2 separate regions of the Homo sapiens genome follow, and region 2 is linked to region 1. Evidence: promoter capture Hi-C in human tissues and cell types (Jung and others, 2019). All regions are on one chromosome and are shown on one strand. The core of a region is centred on a gene start or on the middle of the fragment in contact, and the rest is flanking DNA. Distances in the headings are between cores, read along the strand shown. Region 1 holds the start of DDIT3 (DNA damage inducible transcript 3). Region 2 overlaps ZC3H10 (zinc finger CCCH-type containing 10).

Evidence for each region. The method cuts DNA at HindIII sites, captures the fragments that hold promoters and counts their contacts. A contact is called where the count stands out against the background at its distance.
Region 2: a contact is called between a fragment that was not itself captured here and the fragment with the promoter of DDIT3 in region 1, in 1 of the 25 tissues and cell types used here (spleen).

The regions. Positions count from the first base shown.
Region 1 is chr12:57,519,074-57,523,830 of GRCh38, reverse strand. It overlaps DDIT3 (DNA damage inducible transcript 3), which reads left to right and starts at 3,317. Exons shown (of 4, transcript NM_004083.6): 1 at 3,317-3,413. It overlaps LOC128125814, which reads left to right and starts at 3,351. Exons shown (of 2, transcript NM_001414991.1): 1 at 3,351-3,413. The coding sequence starts at 3,351. MBD6 (methyl-CpG binding domain protein 6) reads right to left here and starts at 1,007. Exons shown (of 13, transcript NM_052897.4): 1 at 820-1,007. MIR616 (microRNA 616) reads left to right here and starts at 4,572; the gene lies at 4,572-4,668. RefSeq lists silencers at 776-1,175, 2,890-3,349 and enhancers at 1,599-2,559, 2,560-3,519, 2,346-3,545, 3,420-3,549, 3,520-4,481 and 4 more. The HindIII fragment of the contact is 17,458 bases long and covers 1-4,757 here.
Region 2 is chr12:56,119,060-56,124,070 of GRCh38, reverse strand. It overlaps ZC3H10 (zinc finger CCCH-type containing 10), which reads right to left. Exons shown (of 3, transcript NM_032786.3): 2 at 4,920-4,983; 3 at 1-3,560. The coding sequence starts at 3,508. The coding sequence ends at 2,204. Among named protein-coding and RNA genes, the nearest start is that of ZC3H10, 3.3 kb to the right of the region's middle. RefSeq lists an enhancer at 1,919-2,916. The HindIII fragment of the contact is 3,704 bases long and covers 1,027-4,730 here.

The DNA.
Region 1 (4,757 bases), core at 2,068-4,567:
TCCCTGGGACCAAGAAAGTCTAGCCCAATTCTTAGGCATATGAAGGGCAAGGCCTCCCTCCATTCGGAGTAGAAGACTTCAACCAGGAGTATGGGCACATTCCCATAATGCTAGGCCACTAGGAAGTTTCCCAGAGTGTCTGGCTCCTGTTGTTCTCTACCCAGGAAGATGATATAAAAAGTACAGATTGCCCCACAGGTCACCAGGCAATTGCCCAACTGCCCGCTGGGGTGGTACCAGCAGAACTCCCCCCATGCCTGCTCCATCAGACAATCGCTGATATAGTTCATTCGGGTCTTAAGAGGTGAGGATCACAGCTCAGTCTTCTCCCAGGATCCTGGGAAGCTCCTGATTTTCCCTCAAGCCTACGGCAAAGGGATTCAGAACCTCCTATTCCACTGGCTTCCGATTATCTCCAAGAGAGCCTGTCCTCCGATAGAAGGGGAAGCCCCTCCAACCTGCAGGTATCCTCCCCAGCCTCACCATTGCTCCCACCCCACACTGGCGGCTTCCAAACTTTCCCTCTCACAACAAGGCGCCCTGTCACCCAGACTGCTTCCCTCAGCTTGAGGAGGAGGGGAAGGCGCACGAAGTAGGAAGGAACTTGGGGAGAGGGCGGGCGGAGGGTGGGCGAAGCACTGAGGGGAGGGCGGTGAGGAAGGCAGAAGTCTGGCAGTGAGAGGGAGAAGCGGCGGGGGCAGGTGAGGGCGGGGGAGTGGGGATGGGGCCGGGGAAAGGGGCCGAGAGGACGCGGAGGGGGCAGAGGGTAGGGACGGGAGGGGGAGGGGCAGGGTGGGGGGGGCCGGGCCCCGCACTCACCGCGGCCCATGGTTCGGCCGGCCCCGCCCTGCGCAGTCGCGGCCCAGAGGGTGAGTGGGAGGGGGTGGGAGGAGGGTCGGTGGAGCCCGAGCCTCCGGTACGGCCCCGGCCGGTCCTAGCAGGAAGCGCCGCTGCCGCCGCCGCGGATCACCGAGCGGCCTCCCGCGCATGCGCCATGGGGGCCAGGGGCAGCCCTGGGGATTCCGTTCCCAGAAGGCACTGCGCAGGCTGCTGCCGCTGCCGCCGCCGCCGTCGCTGCCGCAGCCGCCGCCGCAGGAGCCGCCGCCTCCGCCGCTGCCCGGACGGGAGAGGGGCGGGGCCGGGCCCCCGCCCAGCGGACAGCGACGAGCCAACTGGAGGGGCTGCAGTGCGCATGCGGGAGCGCGCCTACCCCTCCCCCACAACCCCCCATTAATCCCCAAGAGAACAAACACCCCACGCGGCCCCCCCGCCCTCCGCGGAAGGATCTGCGCCTCTTCCCAGGCCACTGGTGGCCAATCCCAGCCCTCCTCAGGGAGGGGCCCCTTCCAAAGCCACAGTCTGTTGCGGGAACCAGGAATGCCAGGTCCGGGAGGGGCCAGGCCCCGAAAGATGAAAGTCGCGACTTGCCCTGCCCCGCCCCAAAGGCTTCCCGGGTAGTGTGCTGGGACTTGACCCGCCTCCCCAGGTCAACATGTCACAACACGACCTCAGCCTGTCAAGTCACATGACCTCTGCCTGTCACTGACAACCTGGTCTGTCTTTAGGCCAGGGGAGACCATCTGGTCCACCCTCCACACTACCCCCATTTTCAGAGAGGAAATGGAGGTGTGGAGCAGCGGAGCAGCCTAACCAAAGACCTGTCATTGCCACACCACTCCAGTCACAACCGGCCTTGTGACAGTTTCTACTTAAACTCTGGCTGCCCCCATGAGGGTATGACAGGATATGTAACAGGCCACCACATGGCCTCTGTTTTCAAGGCACAAGAAAAATACTTTGCATTCTGGGTGGTGCGTTTTACTTTTGGTCAAGTTGCCTCCAAGTTCATGGTTCTCATTTTACCTTCACAACTTTTATCTTTAATTTACAAACAAGGACGGTAAGATCCCTTGGCAAGTGATGGGGAGTTGAGTCTAAAATCGCGGCTCCGGTCTCCCCAGTCCAGGGCAGTCCTGCGCTGAAGTGCACTCACACGTCCCGGGATGAGACTCCGCTGTAAATCTCGACCCGAACACCTAGGAGGCAGGCCTGTGCCGCGCTCCTCACACAGGGAGTCACAGGACTTGCTGTCTGGTACAGCAAGAGAGGGTCTTGGAGAAAGCCATAGGAGTACCGTGGGGGAAAATAGGTGGCCAAACAGAATCGGGTCCACTGGGCAAAATACATGACTTCTGGCAGGCTGAGGGCTTACCAACTACAAGGTAAAAGTCAAGGGCGCTGTTCTGAGAGAAGCGGAAAATGACTACCAAGGGATTCCAGTACCTCGGCCCCTTTTGGGAGATTTACGGGGCTAGAACAGGAGACCACCCCCGTTTTTTTGTTTGTTTGTTTTGTTTTTTGTTTTTGGTGAAACGTAGTCTCGCTCTGTCACCCAGGCTGGAGTGCAGTGGCGCGATCTCGGTCACTGCAACATCCGCCTCCAGGGTTCAAGCGATTCTTCTGCCTCTGCCTCCAGAGTAGCTGGGATTACAGGCGCGCATCACCACACCCGGCTAATTTTTGTATTTTTAGTAGAGACGGGGTTTCACCATGTTGGTCAGGCTGATCTCGAACTCCTGACCTCAAGTGATCCGCTCTCCTCAGCCTCCCAAAGTGCTGGGATTACAGGCGTAAGCCACTGAGCCCGGCCAGGAGACCTCTTTAAGAAGACTCGAGATGTCGACAATCCCAGTGGATGGATACCAACTTTAAAAAGAAAAGTTCAAAAGGCCTATGTGCCCATTAGCTGGGAGGGGCCAAGAAATATGGGAGTCCCTTATAGTGGGGGTAAAACGGCGGGTAAAGCTAGGTGGGCGGAACAGCAGCTTCTGGGGGAGACAAGCGGCAAAGAGGCTCACGACCGACTAGGGGCGACCAAGGCTGATAGCCGTTGGGGCCGTTGGGCGCCGGGAGCTGGCGCCCCGCCCTCTCTCCTCTCCCCCACCCTCCGCACCTCCCACCACCCTCGGTGTCCCCTGCGCGTGCGCGTGCAGACACCGGTTGCCAAACATTGCATCATCCCCGCCCCCCTTTCCTCCCCTCCCCCCCCGCTACACTCCCCTCCGCGCGCGCGCATGACTCACCCACCTCCTCCGTGAAGCCTCGTGACCCAAAGCCACTTCCGGGTCCGACACTACGTCGACCCCCTAGCGAGAGGGAGCGACGGGGGCGGTGCCGCGGGGCTCCTGAGTGGCGGATGCGAGGGACGGGGCGGGGCCAATGCCGGCGTGCCACTTTCTGATTGGTAGGTTTTGGGGTCCCGCCCCTGAGAGGAGGGCAAGGCCATGGTAAAAGATTACAGCCAGGCGCTCCCGAGGTCAGAGACTTAAGTCTAAGGCACTGAGCGTATCATGTTAAAGATGAGCGGGTGGCAGCGACAGAGCCAAAATCAGAGCTGGAACCTGAGGAGAGAGGCGAGTACTGATTCCCATCTACCTTTTACCCTCCCGTCTCCTCAAAGTTGGGGCGTCCGCTCTTTAGGATCGGCCTCACTCCTCCACAGTGAAGTTAGGGACCGTCCGAGAGAGGAATGGGGAGAGTCCCTTATTCTGGGGTGGTGCTTACAAACCCCTATTGCTTCGGACGACGGCGTCTCTCCACCCCTGCCCGGAGCCGGAACACGGGCCCTGCTCTGTGCTGCTGGGCAAAGGGACCTCGGTTGCCCTTGGGAAATTCATTCTTTCCCGTAGCCAACTTCAGGCCTCATCGTTAGGCCTGTCCGCGGGGAGGCAGGTCAGCAGGACACACCCCCGCTCTAAGACTGGGTGACCATCGCTCAGGCCGTTTCCGCCGCTTCGCCACCAGCGGGCCTTCTCCCTACCCCACCCCCAATTCTGTCTCAGTCTCAGTGCCTCTGGTGTCAGCATGGCCACCTTGGTAGCTGGGGCTACTGGACCCTGCAGCGGATAGGGGAACCTTGAGGAGACACAAGCCTTTGGGAGGGGTGCCGATGGACAGGGAGTGGTGTGTTTTCCTTTTGCCGTAGAGGTCTCTGGGCCTCCTGCACAAGAGAGCAGCCTGGATCTCTTAAGTGTAGGAGGCCATTTGGGGTCTCCCCAGGGTATTGTCCTTCCCTCGGGATTAGTCCCTGCCTCTTTAACCCGGTCCTGTCTCCCAGCTAATCTCTGTGTAACCATTGCATCAGGCCAGCCCCGTTTGGCTCTGCAGCCTTCTGACCTGAGGCTCTACTGCTGATGAAAGCCAAGTCCCACACACTGGAAGGCAAGGGAGGGTTCCCCAGGGAGGACAGCCCTGCAGAGAAATACTTCGGGCAATATTGCATCTCTAGCCCCTAGGGATCAGCAGCTGCCACTCTGCTTCTGCCCCTTCCCTATAAGAGAGACTGGGGGGAGTTTATCCATTCATTCTTAACAAATACTTAATGAGGACCTACTGTGTGCCACACAGTTTGGGGCTCAGGGTACATCCTTGAGCAAGAGGAAAAAATCATCTCAGTGGGAGGCCTACAGTAAACAAAATATAAGTGCCACGGAGAAAGCTAAAGCAGAGAAAGGAATGGAGAATGTTCAGGATGGAGGTCAGAGTGTTACATCAGGTGGTCAGGAATTACCTTAGGTAATTCCTCCACTCAAAACCCTTCAGTGACTTCCATGACATGAAATAGGAAGTCATTGGAGGGTTTGAGCAGAGGAATGACCTGTTTTAAAAGGCTCACTCAGGCTGCTGTATGGTGAATAGAGTTGCGGAGGGGTGGCAAGAGAAGAAATGGGAAGACCTTCTGCAGTCAGAAAGTTTCT
Region 2 (5,011 bases), core at 1,629-4,128, 1.4 Mb after region 1:
CCCACTTTCTTGAATCTTCCCCAAAATCACTTAACCAAAGTCTAAGTTCTCTAAGTCGTTCCTAACACCCTCATGCTGAGACACACCACGTTATCCCCAATGGTGAGCCCTCCCCCTCACTGCAATGAGCATTAAACCCAACTTGCTCAATTACCAGGTGTATTCTTGGTGGTCTTCAGCTGGAGTAAATACATACAAGACATACAATGTCTAAAATTTCCCAAATCTACCTCTTTGGAGATAACCTGGCAAGGAGGAAATAAAGTCAGTCAGGATTTGACTGAGAATTCATGTTGGTATCTATGGTTACATTCTTCTCTAAATGCTCTTAAACCATCTCTTTTAATAGTCTAGAATTGCCGGGCACGGTGGTTCATGCCTGTAATCCCAGCACTTTGGGAGGCTGAGGCGGGCGGATCACGAGAGATAGAGACCATTCTGGCCAACACGATGAAACCCCGTCTCTACTAAAAATAAAAAAATTAGCCGGGCGTGGTGGCGGGCGCCTGTAGTCTCAGCTACTCGGGAGGCTGACGCAAGAGAATCGCTTGAACCCAGGAGGCGCAGGTTACAGTGAACCGAGATTGCGCCACTGCACTCCGGTCTGGTGACTGGGCAAGACTCCATCTCAAAAAAAAAAAAAAAAATTGTGTCCCAAAAAACATTAAGCTTATCAATGTGTTGTTTCTAAAATCCACAATGTTAGCCCACTTTTAGTCTTTAGGCTTTTTTTTTTAATGACTGGCCTTGACCTAGCCCACCATCTCCAATCCCAGATGTGACCTGAGTGATCAACCAGACAAGAAAGCAAGAGGTAGCAGGAGACATGATGAGGGGGAACACAATCCAGGATCACTCTCTACCCCCAAATCTACTGTCCCATTAGACTAGACACCTGAGTTGTTTTCCCTACATCAGCCGTGAGCTGAGGAGGAACTGAGGTTTGACTATTGGGGCCCCTGGCCTTACTGACTTAAGTAGATTTAAAACTTCTGGTCCTATGTGGAGACAGAGGAAAGGGATGGACCCTGAGGCTTGTGTCCCTAGAAGGACTCTCTTTTCCCAGACCTCCCAAGCCTTGAAGGCTTCAGGAACTGGCCACTGAAGGGGTGGGGTAGGAGGGACATTAACTGCCATCAACTGAGCGGCAACTGCCATCAACTCAATGGCCATCAACTCCACCTGTCCTGCTCTGTTTGAATAAGGATCTGTCAACTATGTAACATCCCATCCGCATTTCAGCAAATACACTCTCCTTACTGCCTGCCCTGCTAAATGACCCTAGGAGCCCTGGTTACTGAGGCAACCTGGGAATAGCACATACAGACAGAGACCAGAAACAGATGGGACTATTTTTAAAACTAGACTGGGTGGCTCCAAAGCTTTTACCCCATAAAGTGCCTTCCCCAAAGCCCCATTTGGTCTTGTTCTGGGTCCCTACCCTTCTTCACTGGCTTCTATCCATCTTACCAAAGCTATGTGAGGCTGGGGTCTTTATCCCATTTTGGCATGAGATCTATTTACTGCTCCCATCTTCCACACAGAATAGCTAAGCAAGTTTTCACTGCCTCCATTTGTTAAAAATAATTGTTCTTTTATTTCTTTGGAAAGTAGTGGGCCCTGCCCTATGGATTTTCAGGTCAAACTAGGGTAATGAATGCTCCCCTAGTCTTTGGGCTGGAGCACTATGGTCCCAGCTTTCCCAGGGCCCAGAAGCAATTCCTGTATTGTCCAACCCAAGCAACTAGGACCCAAATTGTCTGAAGGCTCCTATCAGGCCTTCTCTCCTGACCACCCACTTCCCAATCTTTCCTGGCTTTCCCTCTGGGCAGGGTATTTTTTTCTTCTAAAACCAGTGCTGGAACCTGTGCTGTGCAGAAGAGAGGACAAGACGAGGGATGTTCCCAAATTCCCATAAGAGGACACAGCCCCTCAGTCAGTCCTTCCTCTCTGCTGGCTTCAGTCTGCACTCCTCTGCAAGCCCCCACTGTGAGGCTTGAAGATGGACAAGAGGACCCTCATAAAAGGGAGGTGAGAGAAAACACACCATCCCAACCCCTCCTCAGGACATACTCCTTGTAGTCTCTTGTCCTAGTTCTCAAGGGAGCCCTTCAGACAGGGATGGGGAAGGCTAGGTGAGTGGGCAAGGGCCCCCTGACCCCAGCCCTGCGAGGCTATACCAGGGGAGTGTCCATTAGCCCCATCAGTGTGGCATGGCCGTGATGCGCATGCTCTGGGAAGCGATAGGGTAAGTCACCATGGGAGTGGTGGTGTGGCTCATTGTGATTCCTGCCAAGGGTTGGGCCATCGATACAGCCACAGGGGCCACAGGAGCCACAGATACAGCCACAGGAGCCATGGAGACAGGTGGAGGTGCCATTCCCTGGGCAATTGTTTGAGCCAGGGCAGCTGACAGTGGCGTGATCTCTGGGGTCAAGTGTGGGGGTGGGGGTGGTGGAGCAGCAGGAGGTGCAGCATTAGTTGGGGGAGCAGCTGGAGCTCCAGCAGGGGCCACCAGTTCTTGCTGGGACACTGGACGAGGCTGTAGAGCCTGGCTGCTGAGAGTAGTGTGAGTCTGGGCAATGCCATGGTTAAAAGTGGCAACAGTGCCCACAGTGGGGGCCAGAGTCTGCTCAGTCGCTGGTGCAGTGGAGCTCAGGGTTATGACCTTGGCCTGATTGCGGAACTGAGCATTTTGTTCCAGTAGTACCTCATTGGTGGCCAGCAGGTTGCTGACCTGCTTCTTTAACTCCTCTACCCGCTTCCTGAGCATGGCATTCTCCTCCTCTAGCAGTCTGCACTCCACCCCTCGCGGTGGAGCCAAACTATATTCATATGACTCAAAATGAGGGCCATCAGGGGGGCAGCATCCACCTCGCCGGCGTTTTGGGCCTGGCTCATGGTCCTCAAAGCCCCTGTCAGGAAGGTCATAGATATCATAGAGATCATGACGTCGTCCTGGGAGGACTGAGCCTGTTGAGCCCCCACCAGTGCCTCCTCCACCCCGAGCATCAAACTCAAAATCCCGTTGCAGGTGACGGAACTTGCACTTGGCTCCTCTCTGACAGTCACCCTTGAGAAAGTCACGGCAGATAGGGACCTCCTCCTTGCCATTTGGTAGGTCAGCCGGTGAAAGGCCAAGGCCAGCTGCTACTTTCTGCCTCAGCCGTGGGGGAAGCTCTCCTGTCTTCTTATAGCCATCCTCATCCTCCTTGGAGCCATGGATGAAACGGCAATTTGGGCGGCTACACTCCTTGTTCTGGAAGTCATGGCAGAAGATGAACTCGTTTTTGCTCACCCCCAAGTTGGACACCTCGCTCATGTCTGGGTGGCGATATCGGCAACGCTTGCCTCGCTTGCACACATTCCTCAAGAAGTCTCTACAGATGGCATCTGAGCTGGCCCCGCCACTGCCTACCCCTGCCCCACTGGCCTCCTCGCTGCCACCACCTCCAGGGCCTCCACCGCTGCTCCCGGTACCGTTGGCATAGCTGTCCCGGTCAGGCATCCTGGTCCCGCCCAACTCAGGGTTTTCTTTATCTTGCCACTCTTGGTGACCACTACAAAAGAGGAGAACTGTATCAAACAGGAGTCCTCCAGGGAGATCCCACTCTTCCTGACTATAAAGCAGGTGGCCCAGAGGGGCAATGGCTTTAGAGATGGAGAATCTAAGGGATAAGAATTCTGGCTGAAATGTCTGACTCATCAAAAGCCCCTCCCAGGGTTTTGTGCACCTGGTCTGGGTCAGAATGATTCACACTTGCCTGGCTAACGGAGGAGGGATAGGCCCAGGACGGAGCAGGGAAAAAATAGTGTTGGAATTCATCTTTCCTTTTGAGCTGACCTTATTAAAGTTGTGGAAGTGAAATTAAAACTGCAGTCAGTATCTGAATAGTCTGGAAGGAAACTGGGAATAGTGCCCAAGATGGGCTACTGAGCTACTAGGGCTGTAGAAGATGGGACACTGGTAACAAAACTTCCTTAACCCCCTTTCCTTTTCCTCAGGTAAGGGCTCTGTACACATCAAATCTCTAGAAGCCAAGAAATCCTGGGTGAAGAGACTGGTGTCACCAGCTTGAGGGGAGTCTCAAAACCTGTCATATTTTAGTATTCCCTCCCAGCCATCATCACTGTCAACGGCAGAGAGGTAAGCCCCTTCTATTTCAGGATAGGAGTTCTAAGTTAGAGTCTCCACTTCTAGATTTCCTAGGACAAACCATTTGTGATAAGGTCAAGTGGGAAGGAGTTAATTTCACAGGAACAAGTGACCTTTCCCCATTCCCCACCCCCTTCCTACTCCCCTATGTGAAGATCCCACTGACATCCAACCACACCATTCCTCAACCCAGAAAGATCCTCTTTATTTATAGACTCCATAAAAGCTTTTTAAGTCTCCTATTTCCCAAGAGAGCTTTGGAATGTCAGTCCACTGCCCTGGTTCTAGCCCTCCCCTCTCTCCACCCCCAGTAAGACCTGGAGTCCCTGCTACCACGTGTCTGACCTCCCAAGCCTTTCCTATGCGGTGTTCAGGCTCCCCCTGCTGCTGAAATAGGAAAACTTCATATTGTTCCCTTTGAGAATAAGGGAATCTTTCCTAATTCCTTTGGCCTTGACCTACCCCCACCCCACTACTGTGACTTTGCCTTCAGATCTCCCTAAAATGAACTAACCAAACCAGAGGCCAGAGTTACAAGAGAATCTGTAAGAGGGTCCTCCTCCTCTAAAGAGAGGTAGTCCCAGAATAATAGAAGCAATCAAGGAAAGAAGTGGTAAAAGAAGATACAAACTTTTAGTAAAGGGGAATGACCAGGTGAAGTACAAATGCCATCTATCCAAGCCTGGCTCACGTTGCAAGTCGCACCAGCAGCAGATAATTAGTTATGATGCTCCTCCCCACCCCACTCTCCCAGAATTGATACCTGAGGTAGCTCAGGTGAAGTCCGGGGCTCCTGTGGGTCTCCACCTCCACATCACTGCTGGGTTCTGAGCAGGAAAAAAACAGAGACTTGGG